Linked DNA regions of Homo sapiens: region 2 is linked to region 1. The links are contacts of gene promoters, found by promoter capture Hi-C in human tissues and cell types (Jung and others, 2019). All regions are on one chromosome and are shown on one strand. The core of a region is centred on a gene start or on the middle of the fragment in contact, and the rest is flanking DNA. Distances in the headings are between cores, read along the strand shown. Region 1 holds the start of MAPRE1 (microtubule associated protein RP/EB family member 1). Region 2 overlaps ITCH (itchy E3 ubiquitin protein ligase).

The links. The method cuts DNA at HindIII sites, captures the fragments that hold promoters and counts their contacts. A contact is called where the count stands out against the background at its distance.
Region 2: a contact is called between a fragment that was not itself captured here and the fragment with the promoter of MAPRE1 in region 1, in 1 of the 25 tissues and cell types used here (dorsolateral prefrontal cortex).

Annotation. Positions count from the first base shown.
Region 1 is chr20:32,817,439-32,824,015 of GRCh38, reverse strand. MAPRE1 (microtubule associated protein RP/EB family member 1) reads right to left here and starts at 4,062. Exons shown (of 7, transcript NM_012325.3): 1 at 3,988-4,062. RefSeq lists enhancers at 2,344-3,013, 3,014-3,683 and a silencer at 3,756-4,345. The HindIII fragment of the contact is 10,810 bases long and covers 1-6,577 here.
Region 2 is chr20:34,448,182-34,455,363 of GRCh38, reverse strand. ITCH (itchy E3 ubiquitin protein ligase) reads right to left here. Exons shown (of 25, transcript NM_031483.7): 12 at 5,884-5,953. Among named protein-coding and RNA genes, the nearest start is that of MIR644A, 15 kb to the left of the region's middle. The HindIII fragment of the contact is 3,166 bases long and covers 2,374-5,539 here.

The DNA.
Region 1 (6,577 bases), core at 2,813-5,312:
GCAACCACATGAAGCTCTAGAGATAGGGCTCTCCAGCCCAGTGAGCAAGGAGAGCAGAGCCTGAGGTGGGAACAGAAGGAGTTAGGATTTTATTCTATTAAGAAATCCACTGTTGGGTTTGTTTTTTGAGGCAGGGTGTCACTCTGTCACCCAGGCTGGAGTGCAATGCCACAATCACGGCTCACTGCAGCCCTGACTTCCCAGGCTCAAGCCATCCTCTTGACTCATCTTCCCAAGTAGCTGGGACTACAGATGGTCACCACCAAGCCCAGCTAATTTTTTAATTTTTTGTAGAGACCAGGTCTCATTTTGCGGCCCAGCCTCAAACAATCCTCCGCCTCAGCCTCCCAAGGTGCTGGGATTACAGGCATGAGCCACCACACCCAGGCACTTTCAGGTTTTAAGTGCGGTAGAATCTTGCTCTCATTACAGTTTGAAAAAGATCACATTGACTACTAGTAGAGAACAGACAGTAGGGAGGGAAGACTCAAGATAAAGGCAGGCTAATCCAGATCTAAATCAAATCCCTGAGCAGTCACCATGAGGACACACTATGAAATACCAGAGACTTCATAGTGACCTAGACACTTAACAATTTTCTTCATTTCATAAGACAGCAACATTACCAGTGGGGAGGGGCAGGGGAAAGATGCAGAGCAATCTGGAACAATCCTGAGATCCCAGCCCCTTGCTCTCTTACGGTACTTCGTTCCCTCCACCTAGTGACTAGAGTTGGTCTTTCCACATCAGTCTCCTGCACTAAGCTGCTGCAAGCCTCCTGACTCACCAAGCCACAGAATGTGACAGCCAGAAGAGGCAAATCCACCCATCCAGTCCCCTTTTTATGGGGTGACTGAGGTCTGTAGAGGTCAATAACTTGCCAGGTCTGCGTGCCCTCACATCTCCCAGGCACCTCATAGTATCTTGCACATAGCAAGCACTCACTACTTATTTTCAGGTTGGCAGAACAGCGTCAAAGAGAGAAAAATGTGTCTATATAAACTTGTCAGAAAGCAAATCATCAACACTGTTACACTCCCCAAATCAGCTGATAAAACCATGTTATGCAAGACACCAACACAATTTAGTTACTGACTCCACTGGGAAATTAATCCCTATGTTTCCAGAGCAATTCATTCAAACCTTTATGATAGGAAGTCCCACAATGAATTGTCATTATCTCGTTATTTCTGAACCATTCTCGAGCCAGATTTGGGCCAGGAAGCAATCCACTCGATGCAAACAGCTGAGGATTTCAAGCCAGGAGGACATGGGTTTGAATGTGAGGCAGTCACTCATTAGTTGTGTGATCTTAGGCAAGTTACTTAAACTCAATGTACCTCAGTTCCCTTACAAGTTAAAGCCACCTATCTGAAAAGGGTCATAGAAGGGTTTAAATTAGATAAGGTACATAAAATATTTGGCATGGCATCAAATTTAAGAGGTATTTAACAAACAAGATGTAGGGTAGGGACCTTGTCTCACTCATCCTCCTATCTCCAATGCCAAAAACAGTGCGCCTGAGACCTGCCAGCACCATCTTGCACGGAGATGCACTGCAACAGTCTTCAAATTTGTCTGTGTCAATCTGTTCTTACACAGCAAACCAGAGAGAATTTCCTGAATCACAAATCACAGCAAGTGCCTCCCTTGTTTAAAATCCTTGAATGAACAAAATACTGTGCGCAAAATCAGGTACCAGAGACATTCAAACAAAAAAGACATGGTCCCAGCTGAGCAATTGTAATCTATTATGGCGACATTCCTATATATACTGTATCGTGTGCATCATGCTGCTATAAAATCTAAGCAGCTGGTAAAGCCATGTGTGTCTCCTGACCACACCCCAGCTCAAAAAACATTAATGGCCTTTCATCATCATATAATTTAAAACTTTCATTAGCAGTACATTAATACCTGGTCCCACGTGCTCCACAAACGCTGCAGCCACTAAATACATGGATTAGGCACCCTGTGGATGTACAATGAACATCCACCGACTCAATCAATTAATTGGCTCCTCCTGACAATCAAAACAGAGCTCCAGCTCACCCTTCCTTCACAATTCCATCATTGGCAGCCATGGAAGACCCATGACTACCACACAAATCTCACCCTTACAAGGCTTCCTGATCCAGGTTTCCACCACCACCATGAAAAAGCTCCCTCAAACCTACCCAGGAATCTCTCTTCCTTCAGCAGCTCTCCTAGCAAGATCCCAAACCTATACAAATTCAACGCTGGCTCTAAAGCACTCTATTACTTTCAAGGCACCACAATAAGCCCTATGTAAAGTGGGGGAAGGAGGTGCCACCAGAAAGGACCTATGTGACCGTGGGCAAGTCACTTAATCTTCCTGCATCACAAATGGCTCATCCTGTAAAATGGGTAAAACAGTATCTCTGCACAAAGTGGTGGTAAGGATTAAACAAAAATCTACATGAAAACACTTAAGCAAAAGGCACATCACGTCCTAAGCTTCCCTCTGTGCCAAAAACTGTGCTAGGCACTTTGACGCACCACCACAAAGGGCACATCTGGATGTGTAGCTCTGGACCTCAGGGAGAAAGTGTAATAAAGAGGTTAAGAGCCTAGACACTGAAGTCCCAGGTGGGGGTTCAGCCACTTGCTGGGCTGCATAAGACACTCCGCCTCTCAGAGTCTCAGACCCCTTATTTGTAAAATGAAAGTAATCTCTCTTGCCAGGCGCGGTGGCTCACACCTGTAATCCCAACACTTTGGAGGCCGAGGCGGACAGATCACTTGAGGTCAGGAGTTCGACAACAGCCTGGCCAACATGGCGAAACCTCGTCTCTACTAAAAAATACAACAATTAGCCGGGCTTGGTGGCGCGCGCCTGTAATCCCGACTACTCGGGAGGCTGAGGCACGAGAATCGCTTGAACCCGGGAGGCGGAGGTTGCAGTGAGCGATGGTGCCACTGCACGCCTGGGCAACAGAATAAAACTCTGTCTCAAAAAAAAAAAAAAAAGGAAGAAGAGAATCTCTCTTAAAGACAGTGTTAGTATTAAAAGACACAAAGCCACATGGAGCACTTAACAGTGCTTGACACAAAACAAGTGCCCAACTAACAAAGAGCTGCTATTATCATTACTACTGTTAGAGACATGCCATCGGAGAAGCGGATGCCCGGCCTAGCATAACCTCCCTCAATGGGCCCCAGGATCCTCATCCCCAAAATGGGGCAGAGGTCAAGCTCTGCCCTGCAGCATCCGAGGGCAACTGTGAAGTAGGGACTGAACTAGCACTGTTGATACCATCCCGTTATACTGTCCTCCTGCTCATCATAATGTGGATTCCTGGAGAGCAAATCTTTGTTCCCGGGAAAACAGCCAGGGTTTAGCACGGTGCCCAACACCTAGTGGGCATTCAATAAACACACACTGAAGAAAGGAGGGAGTCCAAGAGCTGGCTTACTTTCTGCCATACATCGCGCTAAGAGTTTAATGTGGGTAGTATTACTGTCCCCGTTTTACAGATGAGGAAGCTGAGATCCACAGCGGTTAAAGCACCTGTCCAAGGTCACACCGCACGGAACCCAACCCAGGTCTGACTCCACCACCCGATCTCTCGGCCCTCAGGCAACACGGCCTCCCACAATGTGCGTCCCCAGAGCTCCCAGGACGGCCCACCTCGCCCACACCCTCCCAGGGCCCAACCACCCTGGGACCTCCAGTCGCTGCAGCGCAGGGACCACACCTCAGCGGCGGCCCAGAAACCCCCACCCCGCGTAGCAGCAGCCCACTTCCGGCCCGAGACCCCGCCCCCTGAGCAGAGCGCAGCGCGCGCCCCCAGGCCCAGCCCGCGCGCGCCGGGTGACGGCCCCGCCCTTCCCCCACCCGGCTCGAACAGCACCGCCGTGTGGAACGGCCCTGGCGCTGCCCGTAGGGCCTGCCCGCGCACGCCCGGCCTTGGCCCACGCGGCCGCCCCCCCAGCCGCACCCCCCGGGCCCGCTAGCCGGCTCACCGGCTCTCGGCAGAACCGCGTCCACTGCCCGCAACCGGCTCCGGTTCCGTCTTCGTCTCGTTCAAACCGCCAGACCCCGCCCGCCCGCCCGCGCGATGACCTCACACGCACCCCCTCGTTACGCGCCGACGTAAAGGCTCGCCATCCTCCGCCGGCTCCTTTTATAGAGAGGGTCTCAGCCGCGCGCCGGGGGCGGAGCTCGGCCCCTGATCCACAGAACGGTAGCCGAGGGGCGGGGCCCCGACCGCCGGGGCGACTGCGGCACGTGGTCGGTCGCAGCCAATGAGGTCCCGCCTCGGCCCGGTGTGACTCAGTTACAAAATCCCTATGGCAGTAACCAAAAAGAAAATTGCTTTTACAATGAATTTTTTTTTTTTTTTGCTTAGAGATGTATGGAGGTCTCGCTGTGTTGCCCAGGGTGGTCTCGAACTCTTGGCCTCAAGCGATCCTCCCGCCTTAGCCTCCCAAAGCGCTGGGATAACAGGCGTGAGCCACCGCTCCCAGGCTTACAATTAATTTCTGTAAGAATGGGTTATTGAATCATAAAGATACCTAATAGACACTTTGGGGAAACGCTTAGAAGTCAACTTTCTGGGCCGGGTGCAGTGGCTCACGCCTTTAATCCCAGCACTTTGGGAGGCCCAGGTGGGAGGATCACCTGAGGTCAGGAGTTTGAGACCAGCCTGGCCAACATAGTGAAACCCCATCTCTACTAAAAATACAAAAATTAGCCTGGCGTGGTGGTGGGCGCCTGTAATTCCAGCTACTTGGGAAGCTGAGGCAGGAGAATCACTTGAACCCAGGAGACGGAGGTGGCAGTGAGGCGAGACTGCACCACTGCACTCCAGTCTGGGCGACAGAGCAAGACTCTGTCTCAAAAAAAAAAAAAAAAAGTCACGTTCTGTGACGCCCCCGCCCCCCCATCTGCAATATCATGCGGCATATTTTCTTCTTAGTACCATAAGAAGGCATCTTGTGCCTTTACTGTCTGTCTCCTGTAAAGTCCACAGGAGCAAGGACCTCCTGAGTCCTGTTCCGGGTTGTTTCCCAATGGCTGTACATACATTCTCTCTTGCCCACTCCCTCTTTTTTTTTTTTTTTTTTTTAAGAGATGGGGTCTTGCCATGTTGCCCAGGCTGGGCTGGTCTCCTGGGCTCGAGAGATCCACCCGCATCGGCCTCCCAAAGTGCTGGGATTACAGGCGTGAGCCACCACACCTGGCCCTTACATTCTCAAGAGAGCCTTGGCTGAAGGAGGAACTGGGCTGGGCGTGGTGGCTCACACCTGTAATCCCAACACTTTGGGAGGCCAAGGCGGATGAATTACCTGAGGTCAGGAGTTGGAAACCAGCCTGTCCAACATGGCGAAACCCCATCTCTACTAAAAATGCAAAACTTAGCCGGGCATGGTGGTGGGCGCCTGTAATCCCAGCTACTTGGGAGGCTGAGGCAGGAGAATCACTTGAACCTGGGAGGCAGAGGTTGCAGTCAGACTTCGTCTAAAAAAGAAAAAAAGAGGAACTGCACCACTTTACAGCAGAAAGAAACTGAGGGACAAAGAGGCCAATTGACTCACTCAGTGTCAGAGGTAGATCCAGATTTCAAGCTGACTTTTTTTGTCTGGGTATCATTTATTCAAGTATTCAACAAATATTTTCCCTGACCAATCAGGCCCTGGTGAAAAAAAGACACAATCTGATCATGGTGGTACGTGCCTTTAGTTCCAGCTACTGGGAAGGCTGGGGCAGGAGGATCGCTTGAGCCCAGGAGTTCGAGGCTGCAGTGAGCAAAGATCACGCCACTGCACTCCAGGCCTGGGAAACAGAGTGAAACTCCATCTCTAAGAGATAAAAACGAAAACTAGACACAGCTTCTGACCTCTTAAAGTTTCCAGACTGGCAGGGGAGGCAAAGGGGACACAACTAATGACACAAATCCTTGTTAAATTACAAATCAGGCTCAATGCTAGGCAGGGACATTATGTGGTGGGCTGATGGTACTTCCACTGTGTGGAGCAGGGGCCTAGAGGTCCCTCTAGGCCAAATCTCACCCAGTTAGTTGCTGAAACCCAGTAAGACGTTCAGGGAAGAATGGGTGGGGAAGCTGGGGCAGGAGCTGTTTATCAGCAGGTCTAGAGGCATTTCAATACTTCGGTCTCGAGTACTGCTCCAAGAGCACACCACAAGAGACATGACCTCTCCTAGGTAGTGTGGAAAAGCTTCCCAGAAATGACACTTACCATGAAAGATGAGGAGTTACCTTGGCAAAAGAGTTTGAGCAAGGCCAGTTGTGGTGGCTCATGCCTGTAATCCCAGCACTTTGGGAGGCCGAGGTGGGCGGATCACGAGGTCAAGAGTCTGAGACTAGCCTGACCAACGTGGTGAAACCCCGTCTCTACTAAAAATGCAAAAATTAGTTGGGCGTGGTGGCGCGCGCCTGTAATCCCAGCTACTTGGGAGGATGGAGCAGGAGAATTGGTTGAACCCAGGAGGTGGAGGTTGCAGTGAGCTGAGATCGTGCCACTGCACTCCCGCCTGGGTGATAGAGCAAGACTCTGTCTCAAAGAAAAAAAAAAAACAGAGTTTGAGCAA
Region 2 (7,182 bases), core at 2,707-5,206, 1.6 Mb before region 1:
AAAGATGGGATTCCTGCTGTATCCTAATTTATTTGTTCAACATGTCTCAAAATGAATAACTGATGTATTAAAGATCATAGAATGAACTGATGTATTAAAGATCATAGAATGAACTGAAACTTTTTAAAAAGCTTAGTTTCTAAAAATCAGCATTTTAAACAAAAATTTAAGTTTAATCCATGTTGACATGGCTAATTTTTATTTCCTGTGGTTTGAAAAATTGGTTAACTATTGGTCCTGCGCTGTGGCTCACGCCTGTAATCCCAGGACTCTGGGAGTTATAAGGCAGGCGGATGGCCTGAGGTCACGAGTTTGAGACCAGCGTGGCCAACAGGTCGAAACCCCGTCTCTACTAAAAATACAAAAATTAGCTGGGCATGGTGGTGGGCATCTGTAATCCCAGCTACTAGGGAGACTGAGGCAGGAGAATCGCTTGAACCCGGGAGGCAGAGGTTGCAGTGAGCCAAGATCATGCCATTGCACTCCAGCCTGGGCGACAAGAGCAAAACTCCATCTCAAAAAAAAAAAAAAAAAAAAAAAAAAAAACAGGAAAAGAAAAAAGAAAAATTGGTAACTATTTTTCAAATTAACACTTGAGATCATCTGGATCAGTTTTAGGCCAAATTATAGTCTTGTCAAGTTCGTATTTGGTAATATTTAATTTTATTTCCAATATAATTCCATGATTTCAAGTAGTAGTGATAACAGAGGTTAAAATGGATGTAACTAGTGAGTATCACAAACCTGCTTCTGACATTTAAAGCTACTTTCTATGTCAGCTTAGCTTAAAATGAAAATAGAATTCCAATGTGCATAATATACAGAAAAGTGGGACTCTGCCTCTCATGACACAGGTTTTGCTGGTCAAGGCATCTTCAGTGCATAAGCTTATCACCAACTCAAAGGCTGTCTCTAAAGAAAAACATAGGCCGGGCGCGGTGGCTCACACCTGTAATCCCAGCACTTTGGGAGGCCGAGGCGGGCGGATCACGAGGTCAGGAGATCGAGACCATCCTGGCTAACACAATGAAACCCCGTCTCTACTAAAAATACAAAAAATTAGCCGGGCGTGGTAGCGGGCGCCTGTAGTCCCAGCTACTCGGGAGGCTGAGGCAGGAGAATGGCGTGAACCCGGGAGGCGGAGGTTGCAGTGAGCCGAGATCGCGCCACTGCACTCCAGCCTGGGCGACAGAGCGAGACTCCGTCTCAAAAAAAAAAAAAAGAAAAACATAATCACCCACAGTGTTACAGCTTGCTCTTGTTAACATAACAGCAAGATAAGTTCATGTCTTGGCAGTCGCATTAAATTTTAAAAATTTATTTGCAGAATCCAGAATTCTCTCTTTGTTCTTCTTCTTCTTTTTTGAGACGGAGCCTTGCTCTGTCACCCAGGCTGGACTGGAGTGCAGTGGCGCGATCTCAGCTCACTGCAGCCTCGACCTCTCAGGTTTAAGCAATTCTCCTGCCTCAGCCTCCCAAATAGCTGGTACTACAGACGTCCACCACCACTCCCAGCTAATTTTTGTATTTTTTGTGGAGACAGCATTTCACCATGTTGGCCAGGCTGATCACGAACTCCTGACCTCAGGTGATTCACCCGCCTCGACCTCCCAAAGTGCTGGAATTACAGGCATGAGCCACCGTACCCAGCCAGAATTCTCTTTCTTGTTTAAAAATATATATCCAAATAATTTTTATAACCTAAAAATAATACCCTAAGTATATAGCTGAGCACATACTCAACTTTTTTCTCTCTCTTTTGGTTTTTTGAAAGAGTATCACTCTGTTGTCCAGGCTGGAGTGCAGTGATACAATCACAGCGCACTATAGCCTTGACCTCCGGGGCTCAAGCAACCCTCCCACTTCAGCCACCCAAGTAGCTGGAACTACAGGCATGCCACACCCAACTAATTTTTGTATTTTTTGTAAAGATGGGGTTTCACCATGTTGCCCCAGCCTGGTATCGAACTCCTGGACACAAGCCTTGGCCTCCCAAAGTACTGGGATTACAGGCGTGAGCCACTGTAATGGCCATTCATCTTTTATCTGTCAGCAAAGTTCAGATTTCAGGCCAAGATTTTCCTTTCAGAAGATAACATGAGGCAAGAGAAAATTAATAGCAAACATTTTTCTCATATATATTCTAAGTATATGCTGCTGAGATCAGCCTTGACACATTTGTGAACTGAAGGCTCATCTACTTAATGAGAGGAAGTGCTGTGGCTGTAGAACGGATTTCTGACTTTGTTGAAAAATCACATAATAAACAATACTGAAATTACTGAACATCAAATCCAAATGCAGATTAGAACACTTCCTGACTTGATGAATAAAACAGTAAAAAACAGACACTTCTTGTCATTCTATGTATTCTTTCACAGTAACTAGGAAAATGAGAGAATATCTTCATACTTGATTGGCGAAGCACCTATACAAAGCCCTATTAAATAATACTGGTGAACCAAAAGTATTCTTTGTTCTTTATCCTCTATAGTATGTTCATGTGTTAAAAATTCTTCACTGCCTAGCTAGGCATCGTGGCACAAAACTGTAATTCCAGCTACTCAGGAGGCTGAGGCATTGCTTGAGGCCAGGAGTTCAAAGCTGTAGTGTGCAATTACTATGCTGGAGAACAGCCACTGCACCCCAGCCTGGGCAACACAGGGAGACCCCCATCTCTAAAAAACCAATTATTCACTGAGCCTATGAGGTAGGAATGTCTAGTCCCAGCATATAAAAGTCTGAAAGGGTGCAAGCTGTAAGATGGGATTCTATCAACCTGGGTCAATCCTGAAGGTATGTTGGGTGGGTTGCTTCATCTGATATACTACCAGTGCTGTCACTGGTTCTACAAGTAAGGTATATGCCCCAAAGGCAGCAAGTCATAAAGCAGTGCTCAGTCTGAGTAGGATAATCATAAACATCTGTAGCACTACTTCAACATGAGGAATGTGAAACCTAAAAATAAGCAGACTGTAAAATAGCAGAACAAGACTCTAATAACCTGGCTAAGCTGGATCTTTAACACAGTATTTTAGCAAAGTGTTGTTGGCTAAAGTAAAAATGAGAAAGATCTGGATGATAAAGAAAATGATGAATACAGAAGGCAAGGACCAACTTGCAGGAAAGACTTTTCTGATAAAGGAAACGCAGCTCACAATTCAGCTTTCTATAAGCAAGAGGCATTTTTTTCTACACCTGCCCTAGAGAAGGAGTAAAACAGTTTTGTTTCTGACCATAACCATGAAGCAGGTCATAGTTTTTCTGCAACTTTTTTTTTTTTTTTTTTTTTTTGAGACAGGGTCTCACTCTGTTGCCCAGGCTGAAGCACAGTGGCAAAATCTTGGCCTACTTGCAGCCTTGACTTCCCAGGCTCAGGTGATCCTCCCACCTCAGCCTCCCAAGAAACTGGGATTAGGAGGTGTTCCACCACACCCAGATTATTTTTTGTATTTTTTTATAGAGACAGGTTTTCGCTATGTTGCCCAGGCTGATCTCCAACTCCCGGGCTCAAGCAATGTTCCCACTTCAGCCTCCCAAAGCGCTGAGATGACAGGTGTGAGCCACCATGCCTGGCCTGCAATAAAATTAAGAGGATAAATACATATCCTTTGGATATATCATTTTAGTGCATGAGTTTTTTTCTCCTTCTCTAACATAAGACATACAACTCTAGAAATAAAGCTGGGAAACTCTAGAAATAAAACCATCCATGTCTGGGAATGCAATCTGACAGGTTAAGTTTAATATGCCTTGTAAGGGCAACATCCCCTCTTCTAAAGTACTTCATACTAACCATTCACTGACCACTCTTAGGCTTCAGTAGAGACAGAGGACTCCTTAACTCCAGGCTGCCAAGCTTTGGTAAAGACAGAAATTCACAACTTGCTTTCTTCTTTTTTTTGAGACAGGGTCTTGCTCTCTCACCCGGGCTGGAGTGCAATAGTGTGATCTCGACTCTCTGAAGCCTCAAACTCCCAAGCTCAAGCGATCCTCCCACGTCAGCCTCAAGAGTAGCTGGGACTATAGGCAAGCACCACCATGCCTGGCTAATTTCTTTTTTTTTTTTTTTTTGAGACGGAGTCTCGCTCTGTCGCCTATGCTGGAGTGCAATGGCGCGATCTTGGCTCACTGCAACCTCCGCCTCCCGGGTTCAAGTGACTCTCCTGCCTCAGCCTCCTGAGCAGCTGGGATTACAGGCACGGGCCACCAAGCCCACCTAATTTTTTTGTATTTTTAGTAGAGACAGGGTTTCACCATGTTGGTCAGGCTGGTCTTGAACTCCTGAACTGAAGCGATTCACCTGCCTCAGCCTCCTAAAGTGTTAGGATTATAAGTGTAAGTCACTGCATCGGGCCCACAACTTTCATATGTCCTCCTGTTGTTATAAGCTAATAACAGTAACAGTTATATGTATAGCCTAATACATTTTTTACCTTTTTGACTCACAGAAGTGTTTTGAGAATAGATACCTTTAAATAAGAGCAATGAGATTTCTCAAAGAAAAGCTTATACCCCCAGTAGCATTTATTAACCAGACTCATGTGATCTTGACACACCAACATTTTTTCTCCATAACTCAGTACTGCTAGAACAATGTATCTTGGGGACCAACTTTTCCCAATCTAGAAATATCACTTTCTGAATTTATCCCAATATTATGAAGTATCTTCAGCTCTTGAAGACAAAACTCTGGTTCCACAATGGGCTTTATGTTGTTTTCCACTTTCTATTATAATATATTATTATCTTGCTTCTATGCAAAACTTTCTATACTGCCATCTTTATTCTGAAACCTTGCTATATAATGCTGTGAGTATTACATAACACTATAAAATAGAACCTAGTAGGGTAGGTCCAGCTTAAAGTCTATTAAGGTCTATTTTAATAACTAAGGTATCAGATATACTCAATAACAGCACATGCTCTTGAGCTCCATGGTGTAGGGCATGAAGTTGACACCTTCACATGTGCTCCTTCCACTCTTCTATCAGATAATGCCAACTTAACCAAACTCTGAACCTTGTTTTAGGAGAACCAATGTGATTACAATTTTTTAAAAAGCTTTTTATTTTGAATTAATTATTACTCACAGGATGTAAAAAATTGCACAAAAAGTCTCACATATACTTCATTTTTCTCCGATGGTGACATCTTATATAACTACGTACAGCATCAAAACCACAGAAGTGGCATTGGTACATTATTGTTAACCACAAACATTGTTAAATTTTCACCATGTTTAAAAGCTGAATTCATTTCTGTAAATATATAGTTCTATGCATTATCTCATGTATACATTATTAATGTAATCACCTATTACCAAAATCAAGATACAGAATCATCTTGTGGATCTTGATGGAATCAAGATGATGGAATCATCATCATCACGTAAAACCCCCTTATGTTACCTTTTAATATTTGAATCCACTTCCCACCTACCCTGTTTCCTGACAAGTACTAATATGTTCTCCATCTCTAGTTTTGTCATTTTGAGAATGTTATATGAATTGAATCACACAGGTTGTGATCTTTTGAGACTGACTTTCTTCATCAAGCAAATTACTCTTGAAGTCCACCCAGACCTACTGGTGTATCAATAGCCCATTCCTTTTTTATTGCTGGGTGATCAGTATCTTTAAACTGTAGAAGAGTAAAATAATTATGAGCGTCAATAAAAGTTTATAAAGAGTCCACTTAATGTTTGGGGAATTTAATGCCTATTTGTGAATTAAACTGATATATATATTAAAAAAAAACTTCCCAGACATTCACTCAAGCAAGAGCACAGTATCAGACATAAATATCTGTTTTAAAATGACACAATTGGAAGAGAACAAAAATGAAATGACAGAACTCCATGAAGAAACTCATGTGACTTACCCCATCCAGGTGGCAATGGACCAAGAGGATCAAATTCTTTACTTTGTGATGTAGCAAATAAATCTTGATTCTAAAAAGAACCAAAAAGTGATGAAACTATTAACAACTTAACAACTTATCTGACAGCAAGCTTATGAGTTCTGATTTCCCTTCCCTGGCAATGTATAACACAGAGAGTTTGTATCTTAAAGAAGTGTCACATGGTTATGGATAAATGCCAATATACTTTGGTTTGGTTTAAAAAAAACCGGTGCAAACATTACCTAACATTTAAAATTATTTAAAATTAAAATACTACACATATATGTAATCCTCATCCCCAAAATGACCATTTTTCCTTTGTGCTACAAATTTTACATCAATAATATAAAAATTAGAAAAATATATAACCCCCCCAAAAGTCATTTACAATACCAGTACCCAGAATCATCATATGACTATGAAAAATATTATATGTGTAACTCAAAAACAGAAGATCAAATACAGAACATGTGACATACAAAGAATTATGAGAAGAGAGTTGGGGGAACAGGAAGAGTGGGCTGCCAGATGAGTGGAAGGAAAGGTTTCCAGCTGGAAAGTGTTAATGAGCCTAGAACTGTATGGAAGACTTCTTAAAAGTTCTGTTTCCAATGATCACATTGGTGGAGAGAAAGATTTGGCTAGATAAGATGAAAGCAAAGTAAGAGTCAACCTTTGGAAAAAGAAAACAAAAGTCACACCGACTCTGTGTAGAGATATTAAGTCTGTTTTGATTTAAATGTATAATTAAGTAGAGATAATTACATGGTCACCCAGTAAGATTTGGTTAAACCCTTTCTTCTTCAGTAAGATAAACAAGAGTCTAACTGCATTAAAAATAATTTCACTATGGGGAAGAAAAAAAAAACAAGTAAAACAGGGCAATGAATCCCACATTCCCACATACCCAGCACCAGGATTCAACACTTATCAAGACTTTGCCAAGTTTCTTTATCTCTTTTCTCCTGTTCTTTGTTGAAGCGAAAATCAAACATTATTTCACCTCTACTACATATTTTAGTATGTCTCTCTAAAATTTGTGGACATTTTCTTTTCTTTTTTTTTTTGAGATGGAGTCTCACTCTGTCGCCCAGGCTGGAGTACAGTGGCACGATCTCGGCTCACTGTAGCCTCCGGCTCCCAGGTTCAAGTGATTCTCCTGCCTCAGCCTCCTGAGTAGCTGGGATCACAGGCACGCGCCACCACGCCCAGCTAACTTTTTGTATTTTTAGTAGAGACCGGGTTTCACCATGTTGGTCAGGCTGGCCTCAAACTCCT